Linked DNA regions of Homo sapiens: regions 1, 2, 3 and 5 are each linked to region 4. Evidence: promoter capture Hi-C in 16 types of primary human blood cells and fetal thymus (Javierre and others, 2016). All regions are on one chromosome and are shown on one strand. The core of a region is centred on a gene start or on the middle of the fragment in contact, and the rest is flanking DNA. Distances in the headings are between cores, read along the strand shown. Region 1 has its middle 11 kb from the start of PABPN1. Region 2 holds the start of BCL2L2 (BCL2 like 2). Region 3 overlaps HOMEZ (homeobox and leucine zipper encoding). Region 4 holds the start of CEBPE (CCAAT enhancer binding protein epsilon). Region 5 overlaps AJUBA (ajuba LIM protein).

Region 1 (2,700 bases), core at 97-2,596, 210 kb after region 4:
TTTTTTGTAAAGATGAGATCTTGCTATGTTGCCCAAGCTGGCCTCAAACTCCTGGGCTCAAGTGATCCTCCCACCTCAGCCTCACAAAGTGCTTGGATTACAGGCATAAGCCACCATGCCTGGCCCAGTATTCCTTTTTATGGCTGACTAGTATTTCATTGGATATAACACATTTTGTTTCCATCATCAACTGATGGACATTTGGGTTGTTTCTATTTTTTTGGCTATTACAAATAGTCTGGCTCCAAACAACTGTATAAGTTTTTGTATGAACATATGTTTTCATTTCTCTTGGGTATATACTTAAGAATGGAGTTGCTGGGTCATACTGTGCTATGGTTTGAGTGTTTGCACCTCCACCACAATCCATATGCTGAAATCCTAACCCCCAAAGTGATGATATTAGCAGTTCGGGACTTATGGGAGGTCATTAGTTCATAGGAGAAGCCCCAAGAGCTACCTTGCCCTTTTACATCACGTGAGGATACAGTGAGAAGGTACCATCTATGAACCAGGAAATGGGATCTCACCAGATATTAAATCTGCCAGAACCTTGATATTGGGCTTCCCAGTCCCCAGAACTGCAACAAATAAACTTCTGTTGCTTGTAAGCCACCCAGTCTACCTTATTTTGTTACAGCAGCCCAGATGAATGGACTAAGACCCATGGTAACTATCTTTAACCTTTTGAGGAACTGCCAGACTGTTTTCCAAAGCAGCTGCATCATTTTACATTTTCACCAGCAATGTATGAGGCTTCTGGTCTCTTTACATCCGCACCAAACTTGTTATTGTCAATCTCTTTGGCTATAGCCATCCTAGAGGGTATGAAGAGGTATCTCATCGTAGTTTTAATTTGCATTTGTCTGATGACTCAAAGATGTTTAGCATCTTTTCATGTGCTTATTTGCCATTTGTATGTATGTGTGTGTGTGTATATATATATATTCAGATTCTTTGCCTTTTTTCTTTTTTGAGACTGGGTCTCACTCTGTCCCTCAGGGTGGAGTGCGGTGGCCCAATCACGGCTATTCACAGCCTCAACCTCCCCAGGCTTAGGTGATCTTCCTACCTCAGCCTCTTGAGTAGCTGGGACTACAGGTGCGTGCCACCACGCCCGCCTAGTTTTTAATTTTTCTAGAAATGGGGTTTCGCCATGTTGCCCAGGCTGCTCTTGAACTCCTGTCTCAAGCAATCTGCCCGCCTCAGCCTCCCAAAGTGCTGGGGTTACGGGGATGAGCCACCAAGCCTGGTCCTCATTTTTAAAGTAGATTGTTTTCTTGCAAGACTTCTTTTTAATTTAAAAAATTTTTTTTTTTTTATTTTTAGAGATGAGGTGTTGCTATGTTGCTCAGGCTAGCGTACACAGGCATGGTACTCCAGTGCATGCCATAGTGCACTTCAGACTTGAACTCCTGGCATTAGGCAAACCCTCTGCCTCAGCCTCCCCAACAGCTGGGACTACAGGTATGCATCAGCATGCCCAGCCTTCCTTTGCTGAATACTGAATACTGAAGACTAGACTTATCAGATATATGATTTGCAAATATTTTCTTCCATTTTGTGGGTTCTTTGCTTGCTTTTTTTTTTTTTGAGATGGAGTCTCGCTGTTGCCCAGGCTGAAGTGCAGTGGCGCGATCTCGGCTCCCTGCAAGCTCTGCCCCCCAGGGTTCACGCCATTCTCCTGCCTCAGCCTCCCGAGTAGCTGGGACTACAGGCGCCCGCCACCTTGCCTGGCTAATTTTTTGTATTTTTAGTAGAGACGGGGTTTCACCGTGTTAGCCAGGATGGTTTCGATCTCCTGACCTCGTGATCTGCCCGCCTCGGCCTCCCAAAGTGCTGGGATTACAGGCGTGAGCCACCGCGCCCGGCCCAGTTCTTTGCTTTCTTGACAGCATCTTTTGAAGCACAAAAGTCATGAAGATGTGTCTATATTTTCTACTGAGAGTGTTATAGTTTTAGCTCTTATGTTTAGGTCTTTGATCCATTTTGAGTTTTTTTTAAAAATATTTATTTATTTATTGAGACAGAGTCTCACTCTGTCACCCAGGCTGGAGTGCAGTGGTGCTATCTCGGCTCACTGCAACCTCTGCCCACTGGATTCAAGCAATTCTCATGCCTCAGCCTCCTGAGTAGCTGGGATTACAGGTGCCTGCCACCACGCCCAGCTAATTTTTGTATTTTTAGTAGGGACAGGGTTTTACCATGTTGGCCAGGCTGGTCTCGAACTCCTGACCGCAAGTGATCTGCCCGCTTCAGCCTCCTGAAGTGCTGGATTACAGACATCCCGCCCTTGAATTTATTTTTGTTTATGGTATAAGACAGGGGTCCAGTTCTCTTCTTTTGCATGTGGATATCCAGTTGTCCCAGTATCATTTGTTAAAAAGACTTCTTTTCCCATTAAATTGTCTTGGTCCCTGTTTTGTAAATCAATTGACCAGTCTCTGGACTCTCAATTCTGTTCCATTGATTTTCGTGTTTGTCCTTATGGCAGTACCACACTGTCTATATTACTGTAGCTTTGTAATAAATTTTGAAATTTTAGGAGTGTGAGTCCGCCAATTTTGCTCTTTTTCAAGATTATTCAGCTAGTCTGGGTCTTTTGCATTTCCATGTCAATTTTAGAATCAGCTTATCAGTTTCTGAAAAAAGACAGCTGGGACTTTAATAGTGAATACACTGAATCTGTAGATCAATTTA
Region 2 (2,700 bases), core at 94-2,593, 190 kb after region 4:
AGAGTCTCGTTCTATCACCCAGTCTGGAGTGCAGTGGCATGATCTCAGCCTCCTGGGTTCAAGTGATTCTCATGCCTCAGCCTCCTGAGCAGCTGGGATTACAGGCTGGCTAATTTTTGTATTTTACGTCTGGCTAATTTTTGTATTTTTAGTAGAGATGGGGTTTTGCCATGTTGGTCAGGCTGGTCTCGAACTCCTGGCCTCAAGTGATCCACCCGCCTTGGCCTCCCAAAGTGTTGGGATTACAGGTATGAGCCACCGAACCCAGCTAGTTGTTACTGTTATTGCTGCAGAAAAGACCTTGCTTCTCCAGTGACCATAAGGGAAGATGGTAATACAGAGGCTTGGATTGGAGGTAGAAGCAAAGGGAGCTAGCAGAATAGGAGAATTAGGTTGCCTCTTTCTGGCCTTTGGTTGGGGCACTCTTTAAAAAAGTGCCAGATCCAAGAGCCCAGGGGGCTGGCTGTGAGTGCCCTCATGTGGATCAGCTATGGTCAGACTGCTTCACGCCTGTGACCTGCCCTGTATAAATATACTGCCATGTATAAATAATGGCCCCATATATATGTAATCTGGAAGGATAAACATCAAGCTTAACACTGGCAACCTGCAGGGAGGGAAGTGGAATTGGGTGTGTATGTGTGTGTGTGTTTGAGAACCTGTATTTTATTACTCCGCACGTCTTTATTGTTTGATTTTTTTCATAATGAGAATGAGTTTGTGTGTTGGGTAAAAAAAAGAAAAAGAAAAAAACCCCACTAAAATCAATCTAATTACAAAAGAAGATGAATTAAAGAAAAGTACCGAGAGAAACTGCTTGTGATCCAAGTCCTGGCTCCCTAATGCCTGGCTGAAGCCCAGCCCACAAAGAGAACACTGGGTTAAAGGTCCTGGAGAAAAGATGGGAAAGGTTTGGTGTCTATGTGGTGTCTGCTAGCCCCATAAGGGTAAGGCACCTGGTAGACGGTTCCCAGCTTAATGGGAACTGCTCCTGTTTTCCAGGCACACAGTTCAGGGCTGGAAAAGTTCAACAAGTGCATGGAACATCGGAAACCTCCTGAAAATGCTAAATTTGCCCCGAGATGTCCCGAAGTCCGGCATATTTCTCTGGGCAGCCTAGAGGCTCAGGAGCCCAGCCCAGCCCAGCCCACCGTGCCCTCTCAGCCAGCCCTTCTTTGCCTTCAGCAGCCCTCCCTCTTCCTGAGTAGTGGCCCTTTGCAGGCCTGCGTCCCAGCCCCGCCCCTCTCTCTGGACGCATCTCTGGGCCCCATCATCACCCGGCGCCGGGCCCTCCCTCTGCCCCCCCCTTTCTCCTCCCTCCTTCCTTCCCTCCCTTCCTCCCTCTCTCCCTCCCTCCCAGCTCCTGCACCAGGAAACGGCCCGGATCCCGGCAGCGGCCTGACCCGTGAGATCCCTAACCTGGCAGGCGGGCGGGGTTGGAGACTGGCTGAGGTGGGGGTAAGGGAGGAGCTGGGCCTTTGGGCTGCACTAGGGGGAACCGGGAATAGAGATGGTGTCGGCAGGAAGCCCTTGGCCTTGGGTTTCCCGGGAGGACAGTCATTAAACATGGATTCGGCCACACAGCTGGTAGAGCGTTGGGGGCAGGGGCCTAGGCCCAGAGCTGCAACCCTAGCCCTTCCCAGGCCAGAACCTGATCCCTGGCCTTCCCCTCCTGGTTCTGATCTCCCCCTCCCCTTTCCAGGGCTCCACGCTGGCCAGGAGGATGAAAGGCCCCAGCTGGGGGCTCCTTGCCACCAGTGCTGTGTCTTAAGAGCTGCCATCCCGGCTGGGTGAGTGTCTCCTTCCTTTCTCTGTCTGGAGTAACCCATTGCGTCTCCCACCTTTCTCTTCAGCCCATCTGCTCCCCCTCATCTTGTGTCTCTGCCAACATCTTTACATCTTGCATTTGGGGAGGTCCTAAGACCCTTCCTCTAGCCAAGAAGGTGTGGACTAAGGAGACCCGGGGGTGGGGGTGTTGTAGGGGTGTCATTGAGCTGACGTTGTCTTATTGTGAAAAGAATCTAAAGTATCCTAAACAGAAAATTTACTTGTTTTACATTTAATTTGGCATATTAGGAATGTAATGGCCAGCCACTCACAGCCTAGTCTCATATCATGACTTAATTCCCTTGTTCTTGCCTCTCCCTGTCCAGTGAGTCCTGAGCATTTCCTCTCTCCTCCTCATCTCACTGGGTTGGTCAAACCAGAAGTGCTCCTTCTGATTCTCTCTTCATATATTCATGCCAGTCTTTCATCCTTGCCTCTTATAGCCGCCCGGATGGCGACCCCAGCCTCGGCCCCAGACACACGGGCTCTGGTGGCAGACTTTGTAGGTTATAAGCTGAGGCAGAAGGGTTATGTCTGTGGAGCTGGCCCCGGGGAGGGCCCAGCAGCTGACCCGCTGCACCAAGCCATGCGGGCAGCTGGAGATGAGTTCGAGACCCGCTTCCGGCGCACCTTCTCTGATCTGGCGGCTCAGCTGCATGTGACCCCAGGCTCAGCCCAACAACGCTTCACCCAGGTCTCCGATGAACTTTTTCAAGGGGGCCCCAACTGGGGCCGCCTTGTAGCCTTCTTTGTCTTTGGGGCTGCACTGTGTGCTGAGAGTGTCAACAAGGAGATGGAACCACTGGTGGGACAAGTGCAGGAGTGGATGGTGGCCTACCTGGAGACGCAGCTGGCTGACTGGATCCACAGCAG
Region 3 (2,700 bases), core at 194-2,693, 160 kb after region 4:
ATCTCAGCTTACTGCAGCCTCCGCCTCCTGGGTTCAAGTGATTCTTGTGCCTCAGCCTCCTGAATAGCTGGGACTACAGGCGTGTGCCACCATGCCCTGCTACATTTTGTATTTTTAGTAGAGACGAGGTTTTACCATGTTAACCAGGCTGGTCCCGAACTCCTGACCTCAAGTGATCCACCGGCCTCGGCCTCCCAAAGTGCTGGGATTACAGGCGTGAGCCACGGCGCCTGGCCAGAATTGTTAATAACTATTTTTTTTTTTGAGACAGAGTCTTTCTGTCACCCAGGCTGGAGTGCAGTGGCGTGATCTTGGCTCACTGCAACCTCCACCTCCCGGGTTCAAGTGATTCTCCTGCCTCAGCCTCCTGAGTAGCTGGAATTACAAGCGTGCACCATGATGCCCAGCTAATTTTTGTACTTTTAGTAGAGACGAAGTTTCACTATTGTTATAAATAAAGTTTCGGTGCCACAAAAGAAATAGCAATCGAATATAAAATTTTCTTTTTTTTTTCTTCTCAGTAGGGCAATTTACTTCTATAGAAGGGTGCGCCCTCATAGATGGAGCAGTGGTGAGCACACACCTGGACAAAAGAGGGGAAGAAGTTCTTATTCCTGACACAGGTGGCCCCTGCCGCTGTCATTCCCATATTGGCTAGGGTTAGACCGCACAGGCTAAACTAATTCCGATTGGCTAATTTAAAGAGAGTGACCGGGTGAGTGGTTTGGTGGGGAAAATGGTTATGGCAGAGCAGGAAATCGGAAGGAGTCAGGGTGGAGAATGAGTCAGGGCAGAGCAGGTAATCGGAATGAGTCAGGGTGGAGCAGGTGATCGAAAAAGGTTGCTTTACAAGGAAGTTAAGTTTAAAAGTAGAAGGCAAAGAATTGAACATACTGACATATTGATTCTTTGAAGAGAAATTTAGAACTCATATCTAATGCTATGTTGGCCAGGCTGGTCTCGAACTCCTGACCTCAGGTGATCCACCTGCCTTGGCCTCCCAAAGTGCTGGGATTACAGGCATGAGCCACCGCGCCTGGCCACTATTTTTTTTTAGAGACAAGTTCTCGTTATGTTGCCCAGGCTGGCGTGCTATGCATAGGTGCAATCATAATGCACTACAGCCTCGAATTCCTGGGATCAAGTGACCCTCCTGCCTCAACCTCCTGAGTAGTTAGAACTACAGGTGCACAACATTGTTCCTGGCTTGTTACTAACTCTTTGGCTGCTAACAATTTATATTTAGAATGTGGATCAACAGATTGGGAATACAACTGATGAATATCTGGAAGGTAGGACAGCACTGTCCTCTGCCCAGCCCCCCTTTTTTCTTTCCCTTCTTGGTGGTGGAGTGTTGGGGGAAGGCGACTGACAGTACCTTTAAGCCCTAAGCCCAAACCTGATAGCTTTATTTTTTCCATCTCTTGGTTGGATGAGAGACATGGGTCAGAGATTGGGGATAAATGAGGCTCACTCCCCTAACCCTTTAGGTCATGTGAAAATAGAGAGGGGAATGTTTCCTCCTCCAAGTCAGCCTTGGAACAAAGGTTATCCCCTCCCCCAGCCTTTGTCTCTTCCAACAGCTCAGCTTCTCCCCAGGGAGCCCAGAAAGCTCCCTCAGTCACTAACAGCCCCCTCCACACAGGGCAGAAGGTCTCCTGAGCTTAACTTTTCAGCCCAGCTTTCTCCTCAAGACCAGGTGGACAGGCTCATTATAAATTGTAACCAGCTCCTGCAAGCTACCCAGCAGCACCACTGCTCCCAGGATTATGGGTATGGGGACTGCAGGAATAGCCTTTGACTGTGCTGCTTTCCTGAAATAACTGCTCAAGTTATTTCCCAGAATATTCTGTTGACAATTTTTAACTCAGCTCCCTGTGTGGGCACTAGAGACCCTTTAACACATCCATCACCCTTTACTCTTAGGGGAATCACATCTGTTATATTTTATTTTTATTTTTATATTTTTATTTTTATTTTATTTTATTTTATTTTATTTTATTATTTTATTTTATTTTATTTTATTTTATTTTATTTTATTTTATTTTATTTGGAGACGGAGTCTTGCTCTGTCGCCAGGCTGGAGTGCAGTGGCACGATCTTGGCTCACTGCAACCTCCGCCTCCTGGGTTCAAGTGATTCCCTTGCCTCAGCCTCCTGAGTAGCTAGGACTACAGGCGCACGCCACCACACCTGGCTTTTTTGTATTTTAGTAGAGACAGGATTTCACCATGTTGGCCAGGATGGTCTTGATCTCCTGACCTCGTCATCTGCCTGCCTCAGCCTCCCAAAGTGCTGGGATTTCAGGCGTGAAACACCGGGCCCAGCCTTCTATCTGTGTTTTTAAGTATTACTCCTGATCTGCTAAGGACAGGACAGGATTCCTATGTAAATGCTACACGATGAATTGCAAAAATAAACCTCAAGTCCATACATTTAGAGCAATGTGATCGCAGGGATTTTACACCATGATTTTTAAAATTCAGAAGCATTTTAATACGTGTCACCATTTCCTTTTAACAAGCAAATCTAACTAACTGAGGCCACGCAGACCCTGAAAGCAATACTGCTTGAAGAGCCCCTTAAGAGGGTCAATGGAGGCAGCATGGCATGACGGGTAGAAATATGAATTCTTCAATAAGGCCAACCTCTGAGTTTGAATCCCGGTTCTGCCACTTATCAGCTATGTGATCTCAGGCA
Region 4 (2,700 bases), core at 201-2,700:
GGCAGTGGCCAAAGGGGCCTGGAGGGGAAGGCACGGAGAGACGGAGAGGTGAGGGCTGGCCAGGAGGCAGAGCGGAGGCGGGGCGGGAATCTCGGCAGCCAGGGCACACTTGATGCGTCAAAGGAATACAGGACTCAGAGCCAGCTCCTGTCTCTCAGGTCAAAACTATCATCGCTCTGCTTCTGGGAGATGGTGACCCAGATGCACAGGGTCCTCTGCTTGAGACCAAAACTCCCTTTCATGTTCTCACACTTTCTTTCTTTCTTTTTTTGTAAAGATGGAGCCTTGCTATGTTGTCCAGGCTGGTCTCCAACCCCTGGCCTTAAGCGAACCTCCTGCTTTGGCCTCCCAAAGCGCTGGGATTACAGGCATGAGCCACGACACCCAGCCAATGCTCTCACACTTTCTGAGTACACTTTCCCTCAATCTGCCTTGAGTCTCCCGTTCTATGACCAGTAGACATTTCTCACAGAAGCAGGCGGCAGAGAAACAAGAGGAGGGGGCATGGTGAGCAGCAGAGAGGCTGGCGGTGGGGGCCTGAGATCAAGTAGGTCAGCTTGCCACAGGGGCTTTGGGTGGGGATTCAGGGTGGGAATGAATTCACAGAGAAGGAAAGGGAGGTCATGGTGGGGTGTGAACACAGAGGACTGTGGGTTGGGTCCATTTCACAGAGCGACACCAAGCACAGGCTCAGCAGCATGAGCCGGGGCACAGGGTCCTGTCCACACCAGCCTCTCCAGCCCCGGGCAGGAGGGAGGAGGGCTGGCCTGCTCTTACCTTGAGAACGCGCAGAGGCTGGCCGGGTGCTGCCAGAGTTGGGGGCAGGTGCATGGCTGTCTGCCCACAGTGTGCCACTTGGTACTGCAGGGGATTGTAGCTGCCTCGGCTGGCAGCTCGGCTGCCCTCTGGCCCCCGGGGCTCCTCCTTCACCGCCACAGCCCTGGGGTCGTAGCTCCCTGGGCTGCTGTAGATGCCAGGCCCCAGCGCCTTCCTGTCTGGGCCGAAGGTATGTGGAGGGTAGGCAAAGGGCCGAGGGTCAGGCGGCAAGTAGTGGGGGAAGGCAGGGGTTCCGGGGCCCTTGAGGCCTCTGGCCTCAGGCGCTGGCTTCACGGCAAAGAGATCGGAGAGAAGCTGCTCTTCCCCAGACTCGATGTAGGCGGAGAGGTCAATGGAGGCCTCATGCTCACACATGTCCCCTAGCTCCCCGGGCCCAGCTCGGCCCCCTGAGAACTCGAGTGGCTGCTGGCCACCCCGGGGCTCACACTCGTAGTAGGTCCCGTGGGACATGGCCGGCCCGCCCCCTCGGCTCCCCGCCCCCACCTGCTCTTGAGGCACCCCTTGGGGTGCTCCGGCTGCCCTCTCTCTACCTCCTCCTGACCTGGGCCTGCCCTCTCTCGATCTTCTGCCCTAGACCTGCCCTCTGCAGTCTCCTCTGTCACCCACTCCTGTGTGGCCTCTCTCCCCCCTCTGCTCTGCTTCCTTTTCCTTCCTCTGTAGTCAATGCCTCTCTTCTCTTCCCTTTTTTCCCCTCTCTCCCCTTGGGGTGACTCAGGGAGGGGCAGGACACACCCCAGAGGGAGAGATGTAAGCCTTAGAGAAAGGCGACTCCTGGCCTATTCAGCAGTTGGGGACACTCCTTGGTCAGGGACCAAGCCAGGGTTCTGGAGATGCCCGAAGCTGATGCTTCTGGGAATGCCTCTCCACTCCCTGCTGGGAGGCCAGGGGACTCCAAATCCTCGCAGAGGGCAACACCCCACTCTGAGCAACCTCCTCCCTCCGACTTTGAAAAAGTTCTATGCAGAATGAGGTTCCAAGTTAGAGTGAAGAGAGAAAGCCCTCTTCCAGTGCCTACCCTCAGTTGGGTCTCACCTCCTCCCTTGACACGCCTTCCTCTGGCTCTCCCCTGCTGCTGGGCTCCACCTACCCCCAAGAGAAAGTTTCTTTTGTAGCCCCACCTCCCAGAGCATTCTCTGAGTGTAGGCCAGGGTTTGTTTTTTGAGGGGTCTAGGGAGTAGTGATAGGTCCTAGGAACAAGCTCTACACGCGAGCCTGCGTGGTGCTCCAGAGCATGCTCATTTGCTAGGTTTTTGCACAGGAGCTGTGCAATAGCCCACATGTTAGTGCGTTTCCAGCCCTAGCTACCTCTAGCAGCCTGGTACACTTCCTAACTCCCTGGGCTTGGCCAAAGCACCTGGTCAGGACTTGGGCCTTGCACCGCAGGCCTAGGCAGGTTGCTGCCCTCGGAGTAGACAGCCATAATCCTCCGGTGGCTCCAGCACTTCTCTCTTCCAGCTGCTCTGTGCTGCAAGAGGCTCAGGCTGGTGCTTCGCCCCTCACCCTGGGCCTGAGGCTCTGCCTCTGGTTTCCTGTGCCTGGGCTGCAGGGCTTAGGAGCTTGCTGCAGCTCGTTTGCTGTCTTTCCTTTTGCATGGCCGCTCTCTGATCTCCAATGCGTGTCTCTTGGGTCTACTTCCTCTTGTGAGGTTTGAGAAGCCTCTTATGTCATCACCTCTTCCTGGGGCTCTGTTTTAGGGTCTCCAGGAGAAGCCCATGGCTCCCTCTCTGCAATTCTTTGTTCTGTGCTGGCTCTCCTCTTCCCTTTTCTCTTTCCTTTGGGAACTCCCCACTACCTCCTTTCAGAGACACCTGCTCTGGTACTGCTTTTACCTGTTGAATTTCATCTCCAAAAGGGATTGTAGGT
Region 5 (2,700 bases), core at 194-2,693, 140 kb before region 4:
GATTGCAGCTCAGATATAGTTGGCAGGGGGTTGTCGGGCATTGAGCCGCTGCATGTGGCAACCATGGCAGAGCAAGTGCCCATCCAGAGGGAAACAGCAGCAGCCTTCCTCATCACTCAGCTGCATCCGGCAGTCCTAGGGAAGAAGGCACCTAGTTCACCTCAGCCTAGGCACCTTGGACACTGAGGGTATCTTAGGAGTCTGCCCTGCTCAACACCTGACTCCTAATAACTGGAAGAAAGGGATGGGGTGGGAAGGGAAGGATGGAAGGGATGGAAGAGCAATCTGAGAAAATACTAATACCTCAGCTGGACACCAGGTGTCACTGCTGCAGCAGAAATAATGACACAAGCCTGTCTTTCAAGAAGTTTGACCAGAGTCCCTAGTCTTAGAAAGTCCTGACTCTGGGAGAGTCAGATTCAGAAAGGACTAAGCTACTTGGACCAGAGAGAGTGGCTGGAGGACAAAAAAGAGACTGAAGATAGGTCACAATATCTTTCTGGTTTCCCATGCCCTACACCTCTCCCATAGATGTCTGGTTGTTGCAGGACTTGACTCCTCCCCTCTCCCCATTTCCACTTCTTCTCCAGCACCGCTGAACCCCAACACTCACCTCACAGTGGTAGCACTCAAAGTGATAATCCCGGTCCATGGATATCACCCTCACGATGTCCTCACAGCCCTGAAACATGCAGACCCCCATGGAGATGAGAGCAGCATGTTGCCTCACCTCCACCTTTCCCTCATATACAACCCTTCCCACCCCATGGGAAGATCATACAAATGCCCCCAGAGTCTCTCTGCAATCACCTGTAGTTTTAAGATGCTTCTGCAAATCCTACCAGAACTCTCATCTCCTTCACTGGGCTGCACCCATGGAGCACACTCCCTCTGTACAACAGCCCTGGCCTTACCTGCGTCTCTCAGTTGTGCAGGAAGCAAAGGGAAGGGAAGGGGACAGGAGGCCTAAATAAAGTAGGCTAGGCTGGGAACAAGGGGATCCAATAAGATCTGGTCCTCACTGGCTTTTGGTTTCTCTCCATAGGCACATCCCCTACACTCAGCTTAAATCATTTCTGACCCCTTCCTACCAGTGCTGAGGATTCTTCCCACCTTTTTCCAGCCCCTACATCTGCAGTCTGGTGACCTCGACCTCAAAGAAAGTCTCCTCCTCTGGACTGGGATAGAAGAGATGGAGCCTGGGCCCAGTTAGGCTTTCAGACATGTCCAGGCCCGGATATTAGGGTCAGGGTGGTGACCCCAAGAGGCAGAGTCACACGGGAATCTTCACAGAGTACATTCCTTGGCACTACCACTTCTGGCAGGAGGCCAGGCAGCATGTCCCTATCCCCTCCCCAAAGGCAGTGGCACTGGCTGCCCTGAAGGAGAACCCAGACATACTGACCTCAGAGGGGAGGATGGGTTGGCCACAGGCTGCACACTTAGGAGCATAATTTCTGAAAGAGAGAGGGAAGAGATGAGCTGAGGCTGGGGAATCCCTGGACCCAGTTCCACACTGCATCCCAAGGGGCAGACTCACTTGTGGTAGTCGGTGACACAGTATACTTGGTTGGAGAAGTCCACTGTGAAGGGGATGCCATCCAGGCACTTGTTGCAAACAATGCATCGGAAACAGCCTGGATGATAGGACTTCCCCATTGCTTGTAGGATCTGGCTCATGGGGTAGCAAGAGAATCAGTCTCCCTCCAGTCCCAGCTCTCCAGCTGCCCATTATGCTCCTTATTACTCCCATTAACCTCATCCAACCCGCTGCTATACTCCCAGAACAATGCTATGTAATGTCGGTGAAGAAGTCGTAAAATGGAGGCGGAGACCCTGAAAAGTGCCTGAGAGAGCATTCAGGCCAGCAGTGTTTCACTCTGGCTGCATATCAGGATCACCTAGGCAGCTTTTAAAAAACATCAATGCTTTGGCCCTCCTCCAGGCCTATTATCACAATCTGTGGTGATGGGATCCAAACACTGTTTTTTGTTTTGTTTTGTTTTTTAGTTCTTCCCAGCTGATCTGCTAGGCTACCATGATTGAGAATCACTGATTTAATCCTATCTTTTGTTTTTACAGAAAAGAAAACTGAGTCCCAAGTGATTCTAACCAGTAGCAGAAAGGGGATTAAGACTCAGGACTGGCCGGGCGCGGCGGCTTACGCCTGTAATCCCAGCACTTTGGGAGGCCGAGGTGGGCGGATCACAAGGTCAGGAGATCGAGACCATACTGGCTAACACAGTGAAACCCCGTCTCTACTAAAAACACACCAAAAAATTAGCCGGGCATGTGGCGGGCGCCTGTAGTCCCAGCTAGGCAGGAGAATGGCGTGAACCAGGAGGCGGAGCTTGCAGTAAGCCGAGATCGCACCACTGGACTCCAGCCTGGGCAACAGAGTGAGACTCCATCTCAAAAAAAAAAAAAAGAAGACGACTCAGGACCCCAGGCTGGGCATGGTGGCTCACGCCTATAATCTAGCACTTTGGGAGGCTGAGGCAGGAGGATCACTTGAGGCCAGGAATTCGAGACCAGCCTGGCCAACATGGCAAAACCTTTTATCTACTAAACATACAAAAATTAGCCAGGCATGGTGGCGCATGCCTGTAGTCCTAGCTACTTGGGAGGCTGAGGCACTAGAATCACTTGAACCTGGGAGGCGGAGGTTGCAGTGAGCCGAGATCATTCCACTTTGTCAGA

Evidence for each region. Contacts are between HindIII fragments. The CHiCAGO score rates a contact against its expected background, and 5 or more counts as called.
Region 1: a contact is called between a fragment that was not itself captured here and the fragment with the promoter of CEBPE in region 4, in 1 of 17 cell types (neutrophils). The highest score is 5.1, in neutrophils.
Region 2: a contact is called between the fragment with the promoter of BCL2L2 here and the fragment with the promoter of CEBPE in region 4, in 2 of 17 cell types (neutrophils and M2 macrophages). The highest score is 8.3, in neutrophils.
Region 3: a contact is called between a fragment that was not itself captured here and the fragment with the promoter of CEBPE in region 4, in 1 of 17 cell types (neutrophils). The highest score is 5.0, in neutrophils.
Region 5: a fragment that was not itself captured here is called in contact with the fragment with the promoter of CEBPE in region 4 in 1 of 17 cell types (M0 macrophages); the score reaches 5.1 in M0 macrophages.

Annotation. Positions count from the first base shown.
Region 1 is chr14:23,331,021-23,333,720 of GRCh38, forward strand. No RefSeq gene overlaps it. Among named protein-coding and RNA genes, the nearest start is that of PABPN1, 11 kb to the left of the region's middle. The HindIII fragment of the contact is 4,981 bases long and covers 1-2,700 here.
Region 2 is chr14:23,305,490-23,308,189 of GRCh38, forward strand. It overlaps BCL2L2 (BCL2 like 2), which reads left to right and starts at 1,344. Exons shown (of 4, transcript NM_004050.5): 1 at 1,344-1,405; 2 at 1,703-1,790; 3 at 2,271-2,700. The coding sequence starts at 2,279. It overlaps BCL2L2-PABPN1 (BCL2L2-PABPN1 readthrough), which reads left to right and starts at 1,344. Exons shown (of 8, transcript NM_001387346.1): 1 at 1,344-1,405; 2 at 1,703-1,790; 3 at 2,271-2,700. The coding sequence starts at 2,279. RefSeq lists an enhancer at 2,203-2,700. The HindIII fragment of the contact is 2,126 bases long and covers 591-2,700 here.
Region 3 is chr14:23,278,740-23,281,439 of GRCh38, forward strand. The region is part of intron 1 of HOMEZ (homeobox and leucine zipper encoding); the gene reads right to left. Among named protein-coding and RNA genes, the nearest start is that of HOMEZ, 6.0 kb to the right of the region's middle. RefSeq lists enhancers at 992-1,492, 1,493-1,993. The HindIII fragment of the contact is 9,442 bases long and covers 1-2,700 here.
Region 4 is chr14:23,117,805-23,120,504 of GRCh38, forward strand. CEBPE (CCAAT enhancer binding protein epsilon) reads right to left here and starts at 1,451. Exons shown (of 2, transcript NM_001805.4): 1 at 778-1,451; 2 at 1-18. The coding sequence starts at 1,287. RefSeq lists enhancers at 2,090-2,169, 2,250-2,700. The HindIII fragment of the contact is 9,723 bases long and covers 1-2,700 here.
Region 5 is chr14:22,973,434-22,976,133 of GRCh38, forward strand. AJUBA (ajuba LIM protein) reads right to left here. Exons shown (of 8, transcript NM_032876.6): 5 at 1,541-1,671; 6 at 1,406-1,457; 7 at 614-682; 8 at 1-135. The coding sequence ends at 10. Among named protein-coding and RNA genes, the nearest start is that of AJUBA, 7.8 kb to the right of the region's middle. RefSeq lists an enhancer at 1,465-1,965. The HindIII fragment of the contact is 4,841 bases long and covers 1-2,700 here.